Regions from separate parts of the Homo sapiens genome. Here all the other regions are linked to region 2. Evidence: promoter capture Hi-C in 16 types of primary human blood cells and fetal thymus (Javierre and others, 2016). All regions are on one chromosome and are shown on one strand. The core of a region is centred on a gene start or on the middle of the fragment in contact, and the rest is flanking DNA. Distances in the headings are between cores, read along the strand shown.

Region 1 (3,661 bases), core at 66-2,565, 460 kb after region 2:
AATAAGAATATATGCTGTATAGTTAGGTCAGTAAATGGATGAATAAATGCAAGAATAAATAAAAATTAGTAATTTTTGACTGACGTTCCCAAAAGAATTAATTATGAGTTCATGAAAAGCATGTATGTTATATATTTTTTCAAATTGCTGGCAACTGAATATTTAGCACTGGGTCTTAGGTAACTGACAGATCTTTAGAATGAACTGAGAAGGCCAAGGTACATCTTACCCAATCACCACAATAATGAGACATACTGTCTTTCTTTAATTAAATGAAAGTAGCTTTGAAGTATTTTTAGACATAATCTCAACTAACTTTTTAATTTCAATATATTGATATTTATTGCGGGATTTGGCCAGCAGCCCACAATGCAACGGGGCTCTTTCTTTGTTTCCAGGCAGATTGGCAGGTCGAGAAATAATAGACACACACAAGATAGTGAAAGCTGGGTCCAGGGGAGTCACCTCCTTCTGGTCCTGCAATGCCGCCAATGCACTGGATACACCAGCATTTATTATTAAGTTTAGTGAGGGCGGGGGTAGGTTAGTGAGGGATTTAGGGTCATTTGATTATGAGGTGAGATGGTCACATGGGGATGAAGTAATTCTTTAACATAATATTGGTATGCAGAAGTACAGTATACAGAGATAAGAATTTACAATATAGTGTGTGCATCAGCAATTTCTAACAGAGCCTTAAAACAGAAACACAGTCTTTCCATAACCTATGATTAGTAAGATATTAATCAGCAGTAACAGTTGCAGCAAACAATCAATAGAAACAGGACATGAAGCTGGACAACCGGTTAGACCAGAAATTCTCAGAAGGGACTATGCCTTAACCCTAAAGAGGCCTAGAAGAGCCGTGGCAAGATGAGGGCATTTATAGCCCTATCTTGTCCATATGGACAGGCGCCCCTCATGCATCCTTTTATAGGTTCTCCACAAGGGTCACATTCCATTCCCAGAGCTATGACCATCTGCTTTTCTGGGATAGGAATCTTGGTGATGTGAAACCTCCCTGACTTCATGTCCATTCATAGGCTCTCTGCAGAGGGAAGCACATCACATGCTGTTGGCTCATTCTGGCAGCCCAGTCTGGCATTGTCTTTACACAATCCTGCATGCAATTTTGTATTTACAATAATCAGGAGCCTTTCATCTTTTATTCCATAGCAATAGTTTCAGGGGGTCTCCTTACAGCTACTTAATTGCTCTTTTGAGTATTTTATCAAATGAATTATTCCCACCAGAAAATCATCCTTGAGGGAACTCATTCATGATTTGCTGAATATTCTCTGACCTAACCTGGCTAAATTATTGGTGATTTTTTTTTGGAAAAAACAAATTCTTAAATAGATATTTTAGTTATATAAAATGTAATATATATGTATACTACCATACATGATGAAGTTAGAAGACCTAAATTTTTTTAAAAAAATGAAAATTGTTTTTTAAGTTCCCTTGGGGAGAAAGCAATTGTCAGTTTAATTACCTTTTTCCATTCATAAAGTAGGTCTATGAAGTTAGACAATCTTTACTGCAGTGCAAGTGAGCTTCATATTAATGGCAGCTTCTAGAATGAAGCAAAATTAGTTTTGGGAGAGAACTTAAAGGTCATGTAGTCCAAACAGATAAGGAAACATTCTGTGAGGTTTGTGATTAATCAAACACTGTATGGTTAAGGGTAGACACAGTATTTGAATATAAACGAATAAGGAAGTGGGAATAGTCAGAGAAAAGCTGTCAGACCACAAATTACAAAGGAGTCAAGAGGCAAAGTTGATTTTTCAGAAGAATGAAGAGTTAGTTTTTAGATATGTTGAATTTAAAATGGAAATGCCCAGCAGGCAATTAGAGATCCAGGATTGAAATTTAAAGTAGAGGGATTACAGCTAGAGATGGGATTTTAGGATCAGTCTCAGAGAGGTGATTGTTAAGCACTACGCTCTATGAACTCTCTTGGGAGGGTTAAGACTGAAGACTAAAATTCACAATAAGCATATATAAGAGTGAAAGAAAGGAAAGCTATAAAGTGACTTCAGGGGACTTTCTCTCATTTGTCTCACTCTCGCCTGTGTATTCAATCACTCCTATTATGATTCATTTCTAACACCTTTTAAGATTATTAAGGATCTGCCATCTTAAATACAGAAATAAATGATGCCTCATATCTACCCCCGCCAAACATGTGTAGGCCTATCTCTACCTACTGTTTCACAGCCACCTTTCTTGAAAGATTACATATTATTCACTGTCTTCATTTATTTTTATTTTTTTAACTCATACTATTTGGCCTTAGCTCTCTCTCTTCTCCTTGATCTCTTTGGTAAGGTTGCCAATCAATGGCTCCTTATAATAACTACAGTGGACAAACTACAGTGCTTCTGCTTTACTTCTTGTAAAGAAGTGATTATGTTAATCACTTTCTCCTTCATTGGTCCCTTTCCTAGGAACTTCAGGTATTCTTTCAACCTCTTTGATAAAATTTTGTATCACAATTTTATTGTTTTTATTTCTTTCTTTTATTTGTGTTAGTATTTCTTGGAATTCTGCAAGAGTTGTATCTCATACTTAACTGAAGAATGATACCAGGATAGTTTCACTCACAACTGTTTCTTCATATGTTAATATGACTGTATATGGCTAAAGAAAAAAGTATTGTTACCACATGTGTTTAATTAACCACAGGTTATATCTCTATTTTCCCAGCTACATTACATTGTGCAAATTTTAGTTCCCAACAATGGAAAGCCCTATGGATTGCACTCAGCTGAAGTGGCACCTCCAAGCTTGCCCTATTTAATTCCACATGTAAGTCAATTGGCACTATAGACTATACACTCAACATGCTTAAAACTAACCCGAGCACTAAACCTCTTATCTGAGCCTACTTTCTCTGTGGAATGCACATGTCTACGTGCAGACACAAATGCTGTGTGTAATTCCTTTGCCTTTTTCGTTGTAAAGTGATTAGAATTTCTATGTTTACAGAATAAGGAAAAGTCCTTATTAATTTTAAATAAGGCTTACATTATGAATGCTTCAGCACAAGGTGACATATTAAAGGCAATTGCTATTTTCCAAAACAAGCCATGAGCATTTTGATACAAAAAGAATGATTTGGAAAGTGTAGAGAACGAATGACCAATAAAAATTTAGAATGCATTCTTTTTATTTGCCTATGTGAGGTTGAGGGAAGAAACATGTATGTAAATTTATCAGGTTCATTATCATATTCAAATCCAATGTTGATATTTTTCTCTTTCACTGTAATATAACCAAAAGGGATGATGTTTCACAGTTGAAAAACAATTGTATTTTCATACATGTCTACTTCTCTCACTAGCCGATAATGTCCCAGAAAGGCTTTCAAGGGTTTGAGTACTCAATAGATGTTTAACAAGTAAGAAAGAACTAGGAATTAAAACATTATGAATATAAACAGAAAAAAATTTCCAGAAGAGGAATCAACAATTCAAATAAAACAGAGAAGACTATTAAGAAGTAATCAATGACCTTTGATAGAGAGGTTTAAATTAAAGGACAGGAGAGAAATTATATTAGAATAAATGAAAAGATGAATAGTTATAAAACTATCCTAAAGAGATGGTATGATTAGGATAGGTGTGATGTTTAGTCATGATATGCTAAGTGATGC
Region 2 (3,690 bases), core at 363-2,862:
CATTGACTACTTAGTCAAAGGCTGGGGAGGTTTGGGGGTAGGTGTGGTGTTAAGGACTAAAAACATGAAAAGGCTTAAGGGAAGTACACACTATAATCCAGTATGATTAACTATGGTTTGTGTAAGTGAGATCACACAAATCAAGGGCAACGTGAACTCTAAGCAAAAATAAGCTAACGGGGGGGCTATCACAGTTCAGAGAATCTTGATAGCTCAGATTCATAGACTGGGGAGAAGAAGACAAGGTATGCCAGGTTTGGGGGCAAAGTTGACAAAATACTGAAGTATTAGCATGGTATTTATGGGTAGGTGTGAAAGACTCAACTTGAAGAAGCTGAGCCTCTCTGGTTGGAGACAATGCTGGATGGAAAGGCTGGGGCAAATTATGGAGTCTCTTCCTCATTGAGGCAGGGCTTTCTTTCATTAAAGTAAGGTTAAAGTACTAAACATATTAACTCATTTTAAGTCCCACTGTTTCAGTTCTTTTTTTTTTCTTTATGTGTAAAATAGAATTCAACTCAAAACAAAATAATGTTTCCCGTGAAGAGAGTTTGGTCCAAGATACTGTCAGTTAAAATCGTAACATATCATTAAATGGCAGCTATCACTAATAACCTTTCAGCTTCTAAACATGTTTCTAAGTACATCAAATCTTACTATATAAGTATATATGAAGTTTTATTATAAGGAATATTAATATGGTACCGTGAATTGTTAATTAAGGACTAAGAATCTAAACTTTCTGGAATATGATTATGTCCAAACCATTAAGATGAAAGTGCTTCATATGCATTCTAAACAATACCTTCGGTCAGATGTGGGATTTTCTTTTTCCTGTAAATGTTGATGCAAATTCCTTTAATGAATTTTGTATGATGCAGCCTTTGAGTTAAACAGCAAGTAGTAAAGGGTAAAGGAAAGAAAGACGATAAAAACTTGTTCACCTTTTCACCGAAATTCGTAGTATAGAATACAGCATTGCTTCCTGGGATCACAGGCAGCTTGACCCCGAGAGGTAGGTCCAGTAGCTGAGCCGGTCCAACCCCTGCAAAGTGGGTTTTGTGCACGCCCTGTCAGACACAATTGGAGAGTTTTGTCTTTCCTTTTAGGCAGTATTAGTTTAGTTTAGACCAATCTACTTCCATTGCAACCAAAGACTCCGAAGAATTATACAATCAGGGTTCGGGGCATCCTGAAGTCCTCCCGTTTTCCCTGGTCACCAGCTCTCCTGGCGTCCCGCGCCTGCCAGTTGCGGCCGGTACAGTCCGAGCCACCGCCACCGCCCCCGGGCGCCGCAAGAGGGCAGCCTCCTGACGGGGGACAGTTGGGAGCCTCGCGACCCGTGTGTGGCGATCCCTGCCCCGCTCCCCAGCAGGCCTGCGGCCGCCAGAGGGCGACGCCGCCCAGCTTGCGGCCACTCACGTCTCTGCACTGCTGGGTGTCCGCGGCCAGGACGCTGGCGACCGTCTTGGTGACGGCGACTTTGGCAGGCTTGGAGCAGGCGCCGAGGTACAGCTCCATGGCCGGCACAGCCCCCTCAGCCCCTTCCTCACCCGCCCCGCTCTCCTTCTCTAGCACCCCGTTGTCCCTCTGTCCGGACCTGACCAGGAATGGCCAGAGCCCAACGACCTCAGCCCCGCCCCCCGCGTTCCAGGCTTCCAATGGTAGCGGCCCCAGAAGGGCGGTGGCCTCCTGAGGGGCGGCTCGCGCCAGCGCGTAGAGCGCCCGCAGAGCTGGGAAAATCGGTCCGAGAGGCCTGATCTGAGAGGACCACAGTTGAAACTTCATCTTTCTCTGAAACCATCACGCCTTAGCCAATCCTAACGAAAACGTATAAGCTTTGTTGGTGGGTAACTGGTTAATTTCCCCTGGCTTCCAAGGAGCCCTGTTCCGTTCAATAAAAATTCCCGAGTGATTGTTTTTGCCCATTCTACATCTTCCCCCATATAGACCACACCCCATCCCCAGGCTCCCACAGCTTCTTCCCACACCAGGTCCACAAGGCAGACGCGTTGGCTTCCTAAGGGGCTCATTGCCTTCCTCCTGCCTCTTCTGTCCCCTAGGTTTCCTTCTCCTTTCTAGCGCCCTTTACCACTCTCCCACTGCCTCCTCTCTGCTCCTGCAGCTTGATCCTATTTCCCTCTTTCTCCTCAACCATCCAGCCGAAATTTATAAAGTGCTTGACGCTTCTGGGCCAGTCATTGAGCTAAGCACTGGGCAGGACACAGCCGTGAGTAAAATATGGCCCCTGACTGTAAGAAGCTAACTAGACTGGGAGTATTCTGAGGGCAGAGACAGTATGTGTCTAACCCACCTGTTGTTTAGACTTAACTTCATACTTTCTTTGGTCCACTGCTGTTCTCTTTTATTTCTGGCCCGACTAGTAATAACAGTTACCATTTCTTCAGAATCTACTAACTTCCATATACTGTGCCAAACACCCTTTTAAACATTTATTTATTTTAGTAGCCTTATCAATAATTACTCTTTATTTTTCAAAGATTGAGGAAGACTGACAATTGCTGTTAAATGGTGGCTCCTGAGGCTGTTTTCTTAATCAGTGCACTCTGCTCTCTTTGTTGTAATTCCACACATGTGCTTAGGACTCTTAAATTTGAAATCTAAGCTTGGGATATAGTCTATTGCCAGCTTCCATATGGATATCCCACAATTGTCTTAAATTCAATCTACTCAAATCTCAACACACAACTTTCACCAAAACAGGAAAAAAAAACAAAGGCTTCTTCCTGCATTTCCTATCTCAGTGACAATACCAAAGTCTACCCAAGCCAGAAACTAAGGAATGCTTCTAGATACTTCTTTTTCCCCTTATCTCCCATGTTTAGTTGGTCCCCAAGTCCCACTAATTTTATCACTAAAATTAATTTGCCCGATTCTATCTACTCCTACTTTACTCTCCCGGTTAAGCCGCTAATCATTTTTTGTTTGTTTGTTTGTTTGCACCATTGCCACAGCCTTATAACATCTCCCTGCCACCATCTACCCCAAAAATCCATCTTGTATCAATTTGATCTTTGATGGCAAACTGACCATTTCTCTTCCTCACTTTAAACTCCCAACTGCCCTCAGCGCAAAGTGTGTAATGGCCTCTGTTACTTGGTCTCTGTATCAGTTTCTTATTGCCAGCAAATCACCACAAACTTAGTGGCTTAAATTACCACAAATATATTACCTTACAGTGATGGAGGTTAGTAATCCAAAGAGAATCTCACTGGGCAGAAACCAGTGTATTGGAAGTGCTGTGTTCTTTCTGGAAGCTCTAGATCACAACCTATGTTCTTGCCCTTTCCAGCTTCTAGAAGTTGCCTCTTCCTCACACGTTAAATCTGGCAATGTAACATCTTCAAACCTCTCTCTGACTCAGACCTCTGCTCCTTCTCTTCTACAATTAAAGAATCATTGTGATTACATTGGGCCCATCTAGGTTATCCATGCTAATTTATCTATCTTAAGATCAGCTGATTAGCAACCTTAATTCCATTAGCAATCTTAATTCCTCTTTGCTATGAAATATTCACATACTCAGTCTTGAAAATGAGGACATAGACATCTTTGGGGTACTATTATACTACCTCTCACAGCCCTGTTTTTGTCCATCTCTGAGACATAACTCCCCTGTACCACCTCTCAGAATTGAACCTCAAATGACACCAAACTGTTTGTGGTTAG
Region 3 (3,516 bases), core at 931-3,430, 410 kb after region 2:
GCATGAATGGAACTTTGCAAATGATAAATCTATTGAATATAAGATGTCCATGCTATTGGATTCTTAATCAGTTTTGACAACAACAATTCTCCAGAACAAGAAACAGAATGCAATAGAATTAAGAAGAAACCATCTATTTCTCATTCAGATTTAAAATGCCTTTCATTGCCTTGAGGGTCACCACATTCTATATTATTATATACATGTGCATACATAGAAACATGCATATATCACACCAGAAGGTGGCATTTCAAAATATACACAGATTTCATTTTTACAGTATTAATAAATTATTATTTTAGTATGTAGTGTATAGCCTGCTACCAGAAACCAGTATGAAAAGATTTGCAAAAGAAGAATCAATCAGTCAAATTCTCCTCACATCTATTCCTTACAGATTCTATGTATTATTGTAGTTGCTATTGTTGCTATGGAGGAAGATAAAATGGTAATAAGAATTTATAATTAATGCAGAATTACAAGCTTCATGTTAGGGCTACTATAGGCTTCTATGAATCCATATGCCATAAGTTTAATATATAAATTATAACTTTATGTAAGAGTTAGAGAGATAAAGAATGGAGGTAAGAAAGCATGTAATGATTCTGGAACATAATGTAATAAAGTTCAGTTTTAAGTGGTGATAACATGGCAGGTGTTTACAGCAAATTCATACAACAATTAAAGAATGATCAAAAATTTATTTTGATACATATTTTGAAAGTAAACTTCAAGGGCATCGAAAAGTCATTTTTAAAAGTCTGGTTTTAATCCTAAATTAATGGGGGTCATTGCAGTATTTTAACATTTAAGTGATTAAAATTTTTGAAATGGGTGTGTGTAATTATTTCTTAATCCTAACGTTTACTTTTTAAAAATTAGAATGAATTTACAAAAAAACATGGAAGAAGATGTACTAGGAACAGTGAACATAAACAAATCCTTCAAGTTTTGTTACAGGAAAGACAAATACCACATGTTTTCACTCACGTGAGAGCTAAAAAAGTAGATCTTATGAACGGAGAGAGTAGATTGGTGGTTATCAGTGGCAGGAAAGGGTAGAGGAGAGGATAAAGAGAAGTTGATTAATGGGTATAAAAATACAGTTTGACAAGGCCAGGCACAGTGGCTCACACCTTTAATCCTAGCACTTTGGGAGGCCAAGGCGGGCAGATCACGAGGTCAGGAGATCAAGACCATTCTGGCGAACACGGTGAAACCCCATCTCTACTAAAAATACAAAAAATTAGCCGGGCATGGTGGCACGCGCCTGCAGTTCCAGCTACTCGGGAGGCTAAAGCAGGAGAATTGTTTGAACCTGGAAGGTGGACGTTGTAGGGAGCCAGGATCGGGCCACCACGCTCCAGCCTGGGTGACAGAGCGAGACTCTGTCTCAAAAAAAAAAAAAAAATACAGTTTGATAGAAAAAATAAGACTGAGTGTTTGATAGATGAGTAGGGTGACTATAGTTTGCAATAACTTATTGTATATTTCAAAATAGCTAGAAGATAATAATTAGAATGTTCCTAGCCTTTAAAAAAAAGAAAAATATTAAAGTGATGGAATCCCAACAACACTGATTTGATCTTTAAATATTATATAAATGTGTGCTACATTATCACATATACTGTGAAAATATGTACATTTGTTATGTATCAATAAATTATTTTCCAATGTTTTTGTTACCCAAAAGAGCAGAAAAAAAGAAAGCTGTATGTAAAGAGTGGTGGGATTAAGAAAGTTAGAGTAAATATACTAACTCTCAAGATCACCCTTAGAGACTATTATGTGAAGAGCCAAGTAGAAGAATCTGAAGCTTCCTCTTCACCAAAATTTAAGTCAAAAGTTTATCATATTCTAGGAGTGAGACTGAGGGAGGGACAGAGGCAAATCACAAATATTACCATCAGTGTTAAAGATGTCAAATCCTCAAGGGTAACGATTCCTAGAGCTTTCTTATTTAAAATCCAGTTTTACCAGTGCAGAAAAATTAGATCAGTCTTAGAGAATGACAGTATATTATCAATGATTATAGCTAATGTTCAGTTGGTCTTTCAGTGGTGTTCAATCTAGCCAATGCACTTTTTTTGTATTTTGAAATCTGAGAATGTGAGAAATTGTATTGAAACTAGCTAATCCAGTGATTCTACTTTATCACCTGTCTCAGCTTTATGTAGTCTCTCCTGCTTTTGTAGGCATCATACATGGAGAGGGCTTTTCTTTCCCAATTGTTAACGCAAAAGGATAACAGCTTTATCTGATGCTTGTTACAAGAGAAGGCTACCTAGTTTCCAGGCTGCACTGTAAATATTTCTGTCACATTGCCAGAAAGCAAGTTGAAATTAGTTGTGGTTGATCTGACTACTGTATACAGCCTGTGTCAAACACCAAATAATCCCAACGGAAGCTCCTATGTTTGGGGGCAAAATAATGCCCTCTTTATCAATTTACTGCTCCTCATCTGAGGGATAGTTCTTGCTTCTGGCTCCACTTGATCAACAAAGTTGTGATTATGGAACCTCAGGTAACCACATTTCAAGCTTTTCGTTATAAACTAATGCATTCTTAACACCAAGCTACAAAGTAAGATATACAAGCAGATTATGTCAGCACAAAGGACCAAGCCAAGAGAAGGTATACAAACATTTCGATTAGCTATTGGCAAGTCTGTTACATGACTACCAATTTTTCAACATTTATCCCTAGTCACATGGAATATTCCCACTATGAATATCTGTTGGAGGAAAAAAAAAAATTGAAGCCTAGCTCGAAGAGAGTTGTGTAAATATGATGGCATACTTCAGATATGAAGAGATGTGGAAGTGTGACAATGCCATAGCTATGCTCAGGGATAGCCCTGATGGACAATAAAACAGGAACATTATTAGTACCAACTAGAAACTCCTAGCAGAACTATAAAAACAACAGCAATGTTTGCCTATTTTTTTTCCAAAATGTGAAAATAAAAATATAGAATTTACTAGTAAAGCTATCAGGTGCTGAACTTTTATTTATTGGGAGATTTGTGATTATTGATTCAATATTCTTGTTTGTTATTGTCCTATTCAGATATTTATTTCTTCCTTATTCAGGCTTGATAAGTTGTGAGTTTCTAGGAATTTATTTATTTCTTCTAGGATATCCAATTTGTTGGCATATAATGGATCATAGTAGTCTCCTACGATCCTTTGTATTTCTGAAATATTCGTTCTTATGTCTCCTCTTTCATTTCTGAGTTTACTTATTTGAGTCTTCTTTTCCTTAGTTATTCTAGTTTAAATTTTGTCATTATTGAAGTCTTCAAAAAACACTTCAGTTTTTTTCTACTATTTTTCTAGTCTCTAATTCACGTCTGCTCTGATTTCTGTTATTTTCTTTCTTTTACTAACTTTGGTGTTTGTTTTTCTTTTTCTAGTTTTTGAGGTATAAAGTTAAGGTGTTTGAAATGTTTTTCTTCTGTAATCATTTTTTGTTAGAAATGTCCTTTTTAGTACTCTTTATGCTGTATCGCATAAG

What was found. Contacts are between HindIII fragments. The CHiCAGO score rates a contact against its expected background, and 5 or more counts as called.
Region 1: a fragment that was not itself captured here is called in contact with the fragment with the promoter of FSIP2 in region 2 in 2 of 17 cell types (megakaryocytes and erythroblasts); the score reaches 6.4 in megakaryocytes.
Region 3: a fragment that was not itself captured here is called in contact with the fragment with the promoter of FSIP2 in region 2 in 1 of 17 cell types (megakaryocytes); the score reaches 5.6 in megakaryocytes.

Annotation. Positions count from the first base shown.
Region 1 is chr2:185,273,325-185,276,985 of GRCh38, reverse strand. No RefSeq gene overlaps it. Among named protein-coding and RNA genes, the nearest start is that of FSIP2, 460 kb to the left of the region's middle. The HindIII fragment of the contact is 2,958 bases long and covers 1-2,794 here.
Region 2 is chr2:185,736,726-185,740,415 of GRCh38, reverse strand. It overlaps FSIP2 (fibrous sheath interacting protein 2), which reads right to left and starts at 1,612. Exons shown (of 23, transcript NM_173651.4): 1 at 1,423-1,612; 2 at 945-1,070. The coding sequence starts at 1,521. It overlaps FSIP2-AS2 (FSIP2 antisense RNA 2), which reads left to right. Exons shown (of 3, transcript NR_110217.1): 1 at 1-37. RefSeq lists a silencer at 1,211-1,480. The HindIII fragment of the contact is 3,199 bases long and covers 1-1,840 here.
Region 3 is chr2:185,323,069-185,326,584 of GRCh38, reverse strand. No RefSeq gene overlaps it. Among named protein-coding and RNA genes, the nearest start is that of FSIP2, 410 kb to the left of the region's middle. The HindIII fragment of the contact is 724 bases long and covers 1,819-2,542 here.